2 separate regions of the Homo sapiens genome follow, and region 1 is linked to region 2. Evidence: promoter capture Hi-C in 16 types of primary human blood cells and fetal thymus (Javierre and others, 2016). All regions are on one chromosome and are shown on one strand. The core of a region is centred on a gene start or on the middle of the fragment in contact, and the rest is flanking DNA. Distances in the headings are between cores, read along the strand shown.

Region 1 (6,680 bases), core at 4,164-6,663, 300 kb after region 2:
CACACCGCCCCCAGCCTCAACTCGCCTTTTCCTTATTTCATGGGCATCCGTTCTCTCTGGCTGTCCCACATTTGCTCTGCACTAGTCAGTCCTTTCTGACGCTGTCAAAACCAGTTTCCCCAGCACTCTGTCTCGGGAAAGGCGTCCCTTCCTACCTGCAGCTCGTGTAGCCTCGACAGCCCCCCCTTGCAGAAAAGTTCGGCCAGAAAGCTGGGCGTAGAGGGGCCTGGGATGTCTGCCAAGCTCCGGCGTGCTGAGTGGTACTCTCGGTAGCCTAGGGAGGCGCCCAACTCGGGCGCCCAGCGGACGCGATGGAACACTCTGGAGGCGTACTTGAGGGTCTGGGTCATGGTCTGGTTCAGGGTGCTCGCGAAAGAAAGCGCTTCTCCTGAGCATCATATCTCAACCCCTATTTAACCTTTGGGTGAGGTGATGACGCCCCCTCTCCAAGCTCCTCAGCCAATCCCTCCTCCTGAGTGGTCTGTGCTGGGGATTAGCACCCAGGAACAGTAGGCGGGGCTGGGGCTGACTTCACAACTCCCTTGGGTCTCATGTTGCAATGACCCTCATGGGAGGGAGGGCCTAAGATTTTCCTCCTGGGAGAGTGCCTTTGTCTAGGAGCCTCAAAGTCTCATCCTAGGAAAGGCTATAAGGCTTTTTAGTAGGGACTAGGTGACCAAGCTACACTAGTCAGTCTCTGATATTCCCACTTCTACCAGTGAGCCCAGCCCCTTTAGGCCCATCCTCAGGAATTCCCCATCTTTCAGCTCCTCCAGGAAGGGAAGCAGGGGAGGCACAGCTGTAACTGTCCCCACATTCTTGGCTTAGTGGGTTGTATCTTCTCTGCATTATTTTCCTGCACTAGCCACACCTCCCCCTCCTCCTGTACCTAACATATACTGGGCAGATGGCAGGTGGGTTAATGGGCTAAAATGGCTCCTAGAACCTCCATCTTTCTTTCTTGAGGATAAGGGGGTCTCTTGGGTATACAAGCCCCCTCCTTCCAGACATGGGAATTTGGGGCTTGAGAAGCAGAAATGAAACTTTTTGTACATTAGTTAAGTTCAGAGATTGTCTGTGGGGTGTTAGAGGAGCTAAATGGATGTGGATGTTCTAATTCCCCAGCTGACTCGGTCTCCTCTGGGGGGCTTTCTGGTTAGCAGCTCCTTTCTACTTTTAGCCTCAGAATCCTGTGGTGGCTCATGCCTATAATCCCAGCACTTTGGGAGGCTGAGGCAGGAGGATGGCATGAGGCCAGGAGGTTGAGACAAGCTTGAGCAACATAGCAAGACTGTCTCTACAGAAGAAGTTTAAAAATTAGGCTGGGCACGGCAGCTCATGACTGTAATCCCAACACTTTGGGAGGCTAAGGTGGGCAGACTGCTTGAGCTCAGGAGTCTGAGACCAGCCTGGGCAACATAGTGGAACTGTCTCTACAAAAAATACAAAAATTAGCCAGGCATGGTGGCGTATGCCTGTAGTGCCTTGAGAGGCTGAGGTGGATTACATGAGCCCGGGAGGTCAAGGCTGCAGTGAGTTATGATTGTACCACTGCACTCCAGCCTAGGCAACAGAGAGAGGGCCTGTCTCTAAAAAAAATTAAAATAAAAGAATCTCCCACAGTTTACCTCTCTGCTCCTTACTCCCTCATTCCCCACTGCAACTCTATCAGGCTCTGTGCCAGTCAGCTAGCTCTGAAGTTCTGGAATTGAAGGTCAATGTGAAAAAGGAGAGGGTCTCCACCCCCACACCTTCCCAAGGACTCTCCAGAGACAACACTTAGGGAACACAGATTCCCCAGGTCAAGTCTTACGCAGGGAGAGGACAGGAGGATGGTAGAAGGCATATGATACATACTCCACCCTTTCCTGAGAAATGGCAGAATAGGCATGTGTACACATATACATGTTATCCCAGGATCCACAAAGCAAACAGAAGTGGTAATTGAGCCTAGCAAGCAGTTTAGATGGACTACATTCCTCATTCCAGCTGAGGAGAGATCTCACAAGGAGAAAGGAGTGCTAAGGAAGAGCAAGACCCCACAGCCTTCCAAAGATCCCCTATGGTCCAAAGTCCTTTGACCATCTCAGTCAGCTGCTTTGTTTTCTGTTGGCAGTGGAGGGACAAGGTGAGAGGAGCCAGGGGTAGTCATGAACACCAGTGGGTTCTGCCCTGGGCAGCTCCCCACCTTCTTTAAGAGAGTACTGTGTCTCAGCTCCAGCAGTCTCAACTGGGAAGACCCAGGACTCCTGCTCTTTTCTCTAATCCCTGGGAGACGAGGTCCAGCTAAGGTAGAGTAAGCAGTCAGTGACCAGGCAGGCTGGTTTGGGAGGTCACTGCCTGGAGGACGGGATCTTGTATTCTTCGGAAGATGGCTGGGAAATTCTTCCCTCCATTACGTAGAACTTTCTTCCCCTCCTCAGTTGAGGTGCCTAGATGTCCCACAACGGGGTCTTCACTCTGGGAGAAGGAAGGGTCCAATAAGTCCTTGCCCACTGTTCAGACTGCCCCTGGCCCTTAGACACCTATCCCATCCTCCTGGCACTGAGTTAAGTCCAAATACAGAACCACTCTGGAAAGGGCCTCCACCTCCTCTAGGTCCCCTACTCACCAGGTCCTCCAGAGGCACACGCTCAAACAGTGGGTGCTCTTCGAAATGAGTGCACATCCAGTCGTGTAGCTCCAGCACATCGGTTATGGTATACACCAGCCCCTGCATAGGCAAAATCACCCTAGACAGGAGGCTGCATGCAACGTCAGCAGCCAGATGAAGGAAGTGGTGGTGTGAGTCCCTAAATGCACCCCCACTGAATTCTTAGTGAAGGGCCCCTGAGTAGGCCACTCACCCCATCATCCCTCCGATCCCAACTCACCCCAACTCTTAGCACGTAGGCATATTCTGCTAGCAGGGTGGGACTGATGATTCGCCACTTGTGCTTTGTCCGCTTGAAATGTGGGTCGGGGAAGAGGAAGAACATCTTTGTCAGCTGTGAGACAGACACACACCAACAGGGTTGTGAGAGCCTGGCCTCCATGCCCCCACCTGCCTACCAGCCTAACCCACCAGGGCCCCTCCCCACCTGGCCCTTGTAGAAGAAGTTAGGAAGGTGCTTCATGGCATTGCTACGGAGACAGGCGATGTTCTGGAAGCCACCTGCAGGAGCTGCGCGTAGGGCCCGAATCCGGTCTTGTACATAGTCTGAGACCTTCACCCGGATCTCCAGACCCAGAATAAGTGTGTCTGGGAACAGCGGTGACAGTTCCACTGCACACAGAAATAGCAATGGAATCATCAACCATATACTTGTAGGAAGTGCAAAGGGGTCAACACAGGAAAGGAAGCCTCAACCTGCAACTACCAAAGTCCAGAACGGCAAGAGAGGACAGAGATACATATATGGATAGTTTTATGCTCAAGAGGCGGGGGGAGAAATGAAAATTGTCACCAGGACCAGAATGGGAGGGCTGAGGATACATGTATATTTGCCATTGCTTTAGAGTTTTCCACAGTGTTTTCACACATTGTGTTATTTCATCCTTATAACACTCTGTGGTAAATTGTGAAGATAAGGAAACTGAGGGTCAGATATGCCGAAGATCATAGAGTTAAGAAGGGGCAGAACTGGAACTTATTTATTTGAGATGGAGTCTTGCTCTGTCACCCAGGCTGGAGTGCAGTGGCACAATCTTGGCTCACTGCAATCTCTGCCTCCCAGGTTCAAGTAATTCTCCTGCCTCAGCCTCCTGAGTAGCTGGTCTTGAACTCCTGGCCTCAAGTGGTCCACCTGCCTCAGCCTCCCAAAGTGTTGGGATTACAGGTGTGAGCCACTGTGCCCAGGCAGAACTGGACCTTAAACCAAGGTTTTCTGCCTCTATGTACCATGCTCTTCTTCTCTATCAGGCTGTTATCTGTTTGGGAAGATCTAAAAATAGGGAGTGGCTTGGCATGCATGGGTGGGACAATACAGACAATACAAGAGGAACCCAAAAAACAGGAGAGTGGGGCAGAAGGAATGAGATCTGGCGAGGGAGGGGCAAAGGGGAGGGGAGATGGTAGAATCTCTGAGAAAAGACAGTTCAGGATCACTGGCCACAACGGCTAATCTCTGATGCTTGTGCTGACCAGCTCACTGACCCGGAACCTGGCAGATGAAATGGCTCATGTAGGGATTGACGCCAGAAAGGACAACCCAGGTTTTAAGAAGCATTTGAGGCAGCCCCCTCCACTCTCCAGGGCAAAGGTCACAGACCCAGAGTAGAGGGTAGGTGGAGCCTCTCCATGCTGATGTCACCAGTGTCTGGACGAAAGGGGAAAGGCCAATTATGACCCCCCACAAAAGTTGCTGAGGCAGCAGAAGCTACTAGGCCTCTTCTCACCCCAAAAAGAGGGCCTGAGTGTTACCTAACAGGCCACCATAGCCACAGCCTATGTCTGCAAACTCCACTTGGGCCTGAGCTCTCTTTTCTTTCTTATCCTTTGGGTCATCGTGGCTCTGATTTTGAGTGAGTGGAGCGAAGAACTCTGGGTATAGCTCAGACCAGTCCATCTCCTCTGGCTTCACAGGGCTATTGGAAAGAAGACATAAGAAGCATGAGAAGGTTGGTCACACCATTGCAGAAGTGGTACTGTGAGAGTGTGTGGGTGGGTGAGGGTGGGAGGTAAAAGGGAGGAGGGTTTCTCAAAAATTCTGTAACACTGGGCCCTGTGGCCTCTAAGAGGGACAATGGAAACCACCCTTAACTCCCAGTGTGAATCATAGGACCATCATGAGGCCCATAAACGCTGACCTGCCCAACTCCACTTCTGGCGGTTGATGTGACCCTGGCCGGGTAACTGCCCTTTCTGGGGCACAAGTTCCCCTTCTCCCGAGACTGGCTGCCTAATGCACTGGGATCCTACTTTGTGTTTGTGCTCTGCGGGGAGGGAAGGTAAGGTAAGGTGCGGGCAGGATTGTGTATATGTTTGCCTTTTTATTAAATCCAACAAACAAAAGCAAAAGATGGAAACGACATTCTGCCTCTATCACTTCAGTCTCAGTAACAATTTATTTCTCTTCCCAAACTTAGCACCGCTACCCAGACTTAGGCCCGAACGCCACGCCCACTCTCAACCCGCCAACTCCTCTCTCGGTCGAATCTCCCGGTCCCACCCCCAAAAACTGACGTCACCCATCTGATCCTCCCGGGTCTACCCCAAATCCTCCCAGCAGTTGCAGCACAACTGCTCTCCCGGCTGCTTTGAGAATCCCGCCCTCCTCTCTCTCCCTCTGCCCACTCCTCACTAGCGCAGCGTGTGGTCCGCCATGGGGTTGGAGTGAGCACGTTGCCGGTAGTAGCGCTTCTGGGGCGGTGGGGCCTCTGCTCCGGCCACGTTCCGAGTCTCGGCTGCCATGATCCCAGTCCGGGGTTTCTCTACCAAATCCACGTGGAGGCGCAGGCCAGAGGCGCAAGTTAATGACGCAGCCATGCGCGTTGGTGGCAGTTCCCGCCCCTTAAAGACCCAAGAGCAAATTCAGCTGGGCTGGGCTGGGCTGGGCTGGGCTAGGTGGGGAGGGCTGTAAGGAGCGAGTGCTGGAGGGAACCTCCGCACCGTTAGCCTCCAACTGGGAGGGCGAGGCCAGGCCCAGGGACCCAACGTTTTCTCTTAGCTTGCTTCTGCCTGGTCTGGGTTACCATCCTGGTTGCAGGCACCTGTGCACCCCACAGGTGAGAGGGGTCTAGAGACCTCGCCTTCTACAGTGGCATCAGTCCTCGCTCCTGTCCCCTTACTCCTGGTCTCGGACCAGTCCGCCCGGTCTGACTCTTGTGGTCCCGTGTGGGTTTCGTCGAGTGTGCGCTCGGGGCCGGGGCGGGAGGGGCAGCTCCTCATTCCACCTCCAGGAAATCGAACTGGAGGAAGGAGGGCAAACTCAGGGAGGCGGGGCTCGTTCCACAGGGACACCACGACGGCTCGCGGCCCCCAGCCTCTACCCCGCTCCGGATCCGGGATCTGAGCGCCGGCCGCGGTGCCCAGGCACTCCCTTGGCGGGCCGGATGGCGGACCCCGGCCCAGATCCCGAATCTGAGTCGGAATCGGTGTTCCCGCGGGAGGTCGGGCTCTTTGCAGACTCTTACTCGGAGAAGAGCCAGTTCTGTTTCTGTGGGCATGTGCTGACCATCACGCAGAACTTTGGGTCCCGCCTCGGGGTGGCGGCGCGCGTGTGGGACGCGGTGAGGAATGGGCTGCGCCGGGTGAGGGTCCGTGGGAGGTCCAGATCCCGGACTCCGCCTCTCCCATATGGAGCCATCCTCACGACTGTCTTTTTCTCTGTCTTTTCTCCCGTAGGCCCTGAGCCTGTGCAATTATTTCGAGAGTCAAAATGTGGATTTCCGAGGCAAGAAGGTGATCGAACTGGGTGCGGGGACAGGCATCGTGGGGATCTTGGCAGCGCTGCAGGGTGCGTGAGCTGGCTTTTTACGGGAGAGAGTGGGGACCCAGGGGCGCGGAGAAATGGTCACTTCGTGGATCTTTGGGGGAGAGGGGAGAACTTTGGGCCCAGTCTAACCCCTTCTTTTTAACAAATTTTTTTTTAAAATTTGTTTTTGTTTTTATTTTGGCGTCTGCTTCTGCGTGCCAGACAGCGCGAATTGCCTGTCAAAGCACCTAGGGTGGGTGATTGGGGAGGGCAGGAAATAAAACT
Region 2 (6,524 bases), core at 3,668-6,167:
TCCTGCAGCAGTGACCACTCCCCGGCAGGGAGTGCAGCCAATACAGACAGTGGTGTGGAAATGACTGGCAATGCAGGGGGCAGCACTGAAGACCTCTCCAGCTTGGACGAGGGACCTTGCATTGCTGGCACTGGTCTGTCCACTCTTCGCCGCCTTGAGAACCTCAGGCTGGACCAGCTACATCAACTCCGGCCAATAGGGACCCGGGGTCTCAAACTGCCCAGCTTGTCCCACACCGGTGAGACCTGGGTGTGGGAGGTGTGGCTGGGGTGAGATCTGGACCTGCCCTGAGGTTGAGAGGAGGAAGTCACCCTTGAGGGCTGTCACACAGCACTTTTGTATAATTAGAAAATGGTGTCCTTCCTCAAGACACTTTCCATTTATCAGAAAATAGTTGTGATGTACAAACATGCAAAGGCTAGCCAGGCATGGTGGTGGGCACCTGTAATCCCAGCTACTCAGGAAGCTGAAGCAGGAGAATTGCTTGAACCTGGGAGGCAGAGGTTGCAGTGAGCTGAGATTGCGCCATTGCACTCCAACTTGAGCAACAAGAGCGAAACTCTGTTTCAAACAAAACAAAACAAAACAAACAAACAAACAAGTATGCAAAGGCTATGATGCGAATGCTGTTCCCTAGGATTGTGCAGCACACAACCTGCACAACTGTTCATAGCAACCCTGAATCCTTGGTAACCCAGAAACAGAATAGGCATGGGAGAAGTAGGAGACAGAACAGACTGGTTAGGGATAACGAGCTTACCCCTGAGAATCCAGGGCAAGGCTGTTGCATGGAGGAGGCAGGGTGAAATTTAGGAAGCTCCTTGACCATCCTACCTTTTCTCCCCATCACTTGCAGGTACCACTGTGTCCCGCCGCGTGGGCCCCCCAGTCTCTCTTGAACGCCGCAGCAGCAGCTCCAGCAGCATCAGCTCTGCCTATACTGTCAGCCGCCGCTCCTCCCTGGCCTCTCCTTTCCCCCCTGGCTCCCCACCAGAGAATGGAGCATCCTCCCTGCCTGGCCTTATGCCTGCCCAGCACTACCTGCTTCGGGCAAGATATGCTTCAGCCAGAGGGGGTGGTACTTCGCCCACTGCAGCATCCAGCCTGGATCGGATAGGTGGTCTTCCCATGCCTCCTTGGAGAAGCCGAGCCGAGTATCCAGGATACAACCCCAATGCAGGGGTCACCCGGAGGGCCAGTGACCCAGCCCAGGCTGCTGACCGTCCTGCTCCAGCTAGAGTCCAGAGGTTCAAGAGCCTGGGCTGTGTCCATACCCCACCCACTGTGGCAGGGGGAGGACAGAACTTTGATCCTTACCTCCCAACCTCTGTCTACTCACCACAGCCCCCCAGCATCACTGAGAATGCTGCCATGGATGCTAGAGGGCTACAGGAAGAGCCAGAAGTTGGGACCTCCATGGTGGGCAGTGGTCTGAACCCCTATATGGACTTCCCACCTACTGATACTCTGGGATATGGGGGACCTGAAGGGGCAGCAGCTGAGCCTTATGGAGCGAGGGGTCCAGGCTCTCTGCCTCTTGGGCCTGGTCCACCCACCAACTATGGCCCCAACCCCTGTCCCCAGCAGGCCTCATATCCTGACCCCACCCAAGAAACATGGGGTGAGTTCCCTTCCCACTCTGGGCTGTACCCAGGCCCCAAGGCTCTAGGTGGAACCTACAGCCAGTGTCCTCGACTTGAACATTATGGACAAGTGCAAGTCAAGCCAGAACAGGGGTGCCCAGTGGGGTCTGACTCCACAGGACTGGCACCCTGCCTCAATGCCCACCCCAGTGAGGGGCCCCCACATCCACAGCCTCTCTTTTCCCATTACCCCCAGCCCTCTCCTCCCCAATATCTCCAGTCAGGCCCCTATACCCAGCCACCCCCTGATTATCTTCCTTCAGAACCCAGGCCTTGCCTGGACTTTGATTCCCCCACCCATTCCACAGGGCAGCTCAAGGCTCAGCTTGTGTGTAATTATGTTCAATCTCAACAGGAGCTACTGTGGGAGGGTGGGGGCAGGGAAGATGCCCCCGCCCAGGAACCTTCCTACCAGAGTCCCAAGTTTCTGGGGGGTTCCCAGGTTAGCCCAAGCCGTGCTAAAGCTCCAGTGAACACATATGGACCTGGCTTTGGACCCAACTTGCCCAATCACAAGTCAGGTTCCTATCCCACCCCTTCACCATGCCATGAAAATTTTGTAGTGGGGGCAAATAGGGCTTCACATAGGGCAGCAGCACCACCTCGACTTCTGCCCCCATTGCCCACTTGCTATGGGCCTCTCAAAGTGGGAGGCACAAACCCCAGCTGTGGTCATCCTGAGGTGGGCAGGCTAGGAGGGGGTCCTGCCTTGTACCCTCCTCCCGAAGGACAGGTATGTAACCCCCTGGACTCTCTTGATCTTGACAACACTCAGCTGGACTTTGTGGCTATTCTGGATGAGCCCCAGGGGCTGAGTCCTCCTCCTTCCCATGATCAGCGGGGCAGCTCTGGACATACCCCACCTCCCTCTGGGCCCCCCAACATGGCTGTGGGCAACATGAGTGTCTTACTGAGATCCCTACCTGGGGAAACAGAATTCCTCAACTCTAGTGCCTAAAGAGTAGGGAATCTCATCCATCACAGATCGCATTTCCTAAGGGGTTTCTATCCTTCCAGAAAAATTGGGGGAGCTGCAGTCCCATGCACAAGATGCCCCAGGGATGGGAGGTATGGGCTGGGGGCTATGTATAGTCTGTATACGTTTTGAGGAGAAATTTGATAATGACACTGTTTCCTGATAATAAAGGAACTGCATCAGAAAAAATACCATGCCACTTTATGTATTATTATGTTGGGGAGGAATGATAACAGGGAACAAGAAGAGAAGCAGGGGTTAATCCACTCACTTTCCTCTTTAGAGAAGCTCCCTCACCCATCCCAACACCTCAAGTCACACTCATGAAGATAGAGACAGTCATTTGGGAGATTTAAAGGGATATCCTCAAAACAGAACACCAGCCTCTCACCACCAGAGATGACCGGAAATATGTTTTCTCTTCTTCCTTCCCTGCATCAGGGGAAGAGGCTGGTGAAGTTGGTGAGCATCAGCTGGACCAGCTGCCCTGGGTAGAGAGCATGGGCTGCTGGGTCAGATGTCTCCTGCTCTGGCCGAAACAGGGTTGGTCCAAACACAATTCCCAGGTTGTGGGGTGTCATGCGATTCTTATCTGAGTGTGCTATCACCCTGTAAGCAAAGGCCAAGGAAGGGGATATATGGCAGCAGCTTGCCACTTCATAGCAATCTAACTAACCCTTCAAAGTTCTGAGCAGGGAAGAGTTCACTCTGGGATTCCTCCACATGGTAACAAAAAAACCAAGGAGATACAAGGAGAATGGAGATGGACCAGTGGAGAAACCTTCAGGATACAACCTGAAGATATAACTGCCTCTTCCGACTTCAGGGGCTGCCCCAAGAGTTCTGCCTGCTCACAGTTTGGGAGTCTTTAATTCAAGTGGCCATCCTCTCTCAGAAGTCACTGCCCAGGCCCAGTTCAACCAAAGAAGCCATCAGCAATGTCCCAATGGGAGACAAAGAGGCAGAGGGAAGGGAGAAGTAAGATTTCCCTTATTCCTTTCACAGCATCTTGGTTCCATTTCCCCACTTGATGCTGACCTTTAGGTTTTGACCTAAAGTCTTTGACGGGCACGGTGTAATCCCAGCACTTTGGGAGGCTGAGGTGGGTAAATCACCTGAGGTCAGGAGTTCGAGACCAGCCTGGCCAACATGGTGAAACCCCGTCTCTACTAAAAATACAAAAATTAGCCAGGCGTGGTGGCGGGCACCTGTAATCCCAGTTACTCAGGAGGCTGAGGCAGGAGAATTACTTGAACCCGGGAGGCAGAGGTTGCAGTGAGCTGAAATTGCGCCACTGCACTCCAGTCTGGGTGACAGAGCGAGACTCTGTCTCAAAAATAAATAAAATAAAAAAATAAAGGTTTTGACTCTGGTAATATGCTCCTGCACAGAGGTTGCCTGCTTCCTCACCTGCCCATTAAACTTAGGTGCTTCCCTACCTTCACTCCACCTGCACAGAGTCCCTGTGGCATTCCCCACTCCACCTTTCCCCAGCATGAACAAAGAGGTTCTGTCTTCCTGACCTGCATAAATGCTCCAGGAGGTACCGTAGAGTGTCATGGTTGGGCTTTGGCATTGAGCCTATTAATTCTTGTATCTGAGAGAGGCACTGCTCTGATTCGGAGAGTGCTAGAGAGAGTGATGGGAAAGGCATGGTAGTAAGGTTAGGGAAGGTGCTAGGACAGGATGGGTAAATGCACTGCTCTTTCCCACAGGCATGGAAGACATCATTAATCTAGCACAGCTTTCTTTTTCACATAGCCCAACTATAGCCTCATAATTCTTTTCAATTCAGCCCTCTAAACATTCACAAAAAAGCAACTGGAGTAGGCACCTGAGTTGAACATTATTTTCCATCTCTAAAGTCAGAATGGGAAAGAAGAGTATAAGGGAACCTCTATTCTATTATTTACCACCCGTGTCCCCCACATCAAGGGTTCTTTCCAAAGCTCCAACCCTTACCAAGGGCAGCACGGAAATGGGGCAGCAGCAGTGGTGGCACCAGAGGCTGGGGCAGCTCCCGGAGAAAAAGCTTCAGGGCTCCGGTGACCACATGAATGTCATCCCACTCAGTACTGTCCAAATCTAACCGACCTTCTGGAGGGAGAAGGAGGTATAGGGGCTCATGAAGGGCCAGAAAGATTTAGAGACTGAGAGATTAGAAGTTCTGGAGAAATCCAGTCAAAGCAGACTATAGGAATGCCTAGAGGGTCTGCAGTGGGGCAAGGTAGCTAAGGTGGGGATGAGGACAACCCTCCCAGGAATAGTACATGGGGGTTTCCACGGGAAGCAAAGAGGATATGTGGAAGTTTTAGGGATCTGAAGGGTCTTCCATGTAAGTACCTTGTCCTGGCTGTTCTGGGAACACATACCTCCCATCGGAGGTGACCGCACGCTCTGCAACATGAATGAGGAGAGATCAGGAGCTAAGACATACACTTCCAGCCTGACGGCCTCTCTATTCTGCCAGCTTCCTCATGTAGGACCGCCCATGGTTCTCAGGCAAGACATTCTTAGTACAACCACTGGCCCACAAGCCTTCTCACCTCTGTCCACCAGAAAGCGAAGCTTCTGGACCACTGCCAAGTTCCCGCTCACCCGATAAATGCCATCCACATCTAGACCTGGGAGATGAGGAAGGAGTAGATAAGGACTGCTGCTTGAAAGTGTGTGTGGTGAGGGATATAAGGGTGGAGAGAAAAAGGGCAGTAGGAAGACTAGGTAGAATGGGGGAGGCAGAAAATTCTAGGCCTTAGCCTGTTGGAAGAGGATTCTGGGGTCTCTGAGAAAATGACCTCTTTTATCCACAGCAGCAATGCAGAGCCGCAAAAAGCTGGGCACCGTGTCTCCTTCCCGCTGGCAGAGTGATTCCAACTGGCAGCCGAACACCTGGTCTGGGGAAGTAGAGTGAGGCGGGAAGCCAGTGCCAGCGTCACTCACAGGAGCTCTTCTCAGCATAGGTCTTTATCCTTAAGTGAGGCTGGTCCTCCTGGCTGCCTGTGCCAGGCCTGGGCAAGGAAATACACTCCACCTCCCTTCCCCTGCTTCAAACAATCTGGCAAAGGGGTACAGGTCACCCCAGCTTCTCCCCTAAACAATCTGGGGTAGTGGGAAAGCAGCAGTCACAGAAGGTTGTGGTCTAGTTCTGGGAAGCTCTACTCTGAGCCTCGCTGGAGTTTTCTTATCCATGAACCTGGCCCAGCCCCCTCACCTCGGAGCAGACCCCGCTCCTGCAGGCTTTGTAAGGGCGGTCTCTTCGCGATGAGCCGCTTTAGTTTGTTGCGCACGCGGTTCTGCTCGGTGCCTTCGGGCCCCCGAACTGCAGGAGGCAGGTAGAGCGGGGCGTGAGCGCCCGGGAGCCTCGCTGCGCTCCCGGACTCTCCCTCCCCAGCCCGCGCCTCACTGGAGCTCCGGCGGCTGCTGAGGCGCAGCAGCGGCTTGGACACCAGCTCCGACTCCTCTTCTTCGTCCTCCCCGGCGCTCAGCTCCGCGGGTCCAGAGCCCGACAGACGCAGCTCCAGGGGGTTCTCCCGATCCTAGACCCGGGGCGGGCCGTGTCGAAGGTGAGAGAGGAGAGAAATCTGTATCCCTAGCTGGACTCTGACCCACTGCCGGGGTCCCACATCCCGGCCCAGGCAAGGGCTCTCCACTGAGCCCACCCTGCCCCCAACTGCTCCTGACTCCTATCGTTCCTACCCCACTCCCTTGGTCCCGGCCGGTCGGAGCCTCCCTCCGGGCCTCCACCCATCTAACCAGCCGCTCGATGACAGTCCGCAGCGCGCGGTGCCAGGCTCGCAGCTCTGTCTCGTGGTCCGACTGCAGCAGGAACTCGTGGCCAGGGATCGTGCGGATCTGAGGGCCAGGCAAGGAAACGCTCGGGTCAACGGGAAGGAGTATAATAAGCA

The links. Contacts are between HindIII fragments. The CHiCAGO score rates a contact against its expected background, and 5 or more counts as called.
Region 1: a contact is called between the fragment with the promoter of METTL1 here and a fragment that was not itself captured in region 2, in 6 of 17 cell types (total B cells, naive CD8 T cells, activated CD4 T cells and 3 more). The highest score is 6.5, in total B cells.

Annotation. Positions count from the first base shown.
Region 1 is chr12:57,766,692-57,773,371 of GRCh38, forward strand. It overlaps METTL1 (methyltransferase 1, tRNA methylguanosine), which reads right to left and starts at 5,414. Exons shown (of 6, transcript NM_005371.6): 1 at 5,283-5,414; 2 at 4,403-4,566; 3 at 3,081-3,265; 4 at 2,874-2,987; 5 at 2,612-2,713; 6 at 1,780-2,460. The coding sequence starts at 5,392. The coding sequence ends at 2,305. EEF1AKMT3 (EEF1A lysine methyltransferase 3) reads left to right here and starts at 5,923. Exons shown (of 3, transcript NM_015433.3): 1 at 5,923-6,210; 2 at 6,326-6,437. The coding sequence starts at 6,034. CYP27B1 (cytochrome P450 family 27 subfamily B member 1) reads right to left here and starts at 387. Exons shown (of 9, transcript NM_000785.4): 1 at 156-387. The coding sequence starts at 350. RefSeq lists enhancers at 4,273-5,472, 5,158-5,447, 5,578-6,087. The HindIII fragment of the contact is 5,954 bases long and covers 1,271-6,680 here.
Region 2 is chr12:57,469,461-57,475,984 of GRCh38, forward strand. ARHGAP9 (Rho GTPase activating protein 9) reads right to left here. Exons shown (of 18, transcript NM_032496.4): 10 at 6,373-6,471; 11 at 6,023-6,155; 12 at 5,831-5,938; 13 at 5,415-5,513; 14 at 5,166-5,243; 15 at 4,963-5,016; 16 at 4,582-4,716; 17 at 4,143-4,248; 18 at 2,809-3,228. The coding sequence ends at 3,057. GLI1 (GLI family zinc finger 1) reads left to right here. Exons shown (of 12, transcript NM_005269.3): 11 at 1-238; 12 at 857-2,808. The coding sequence ends at 2,601. Among named protein-coding and RNA genes, the nearest start is that of ARHGAP9, 7.1 kb to the right of the region's middle. RefSeq lists an enhancer at 6,441-6,524. The HindIII fragment of the contact is 536 bases long and covers 4,650-5,185 here.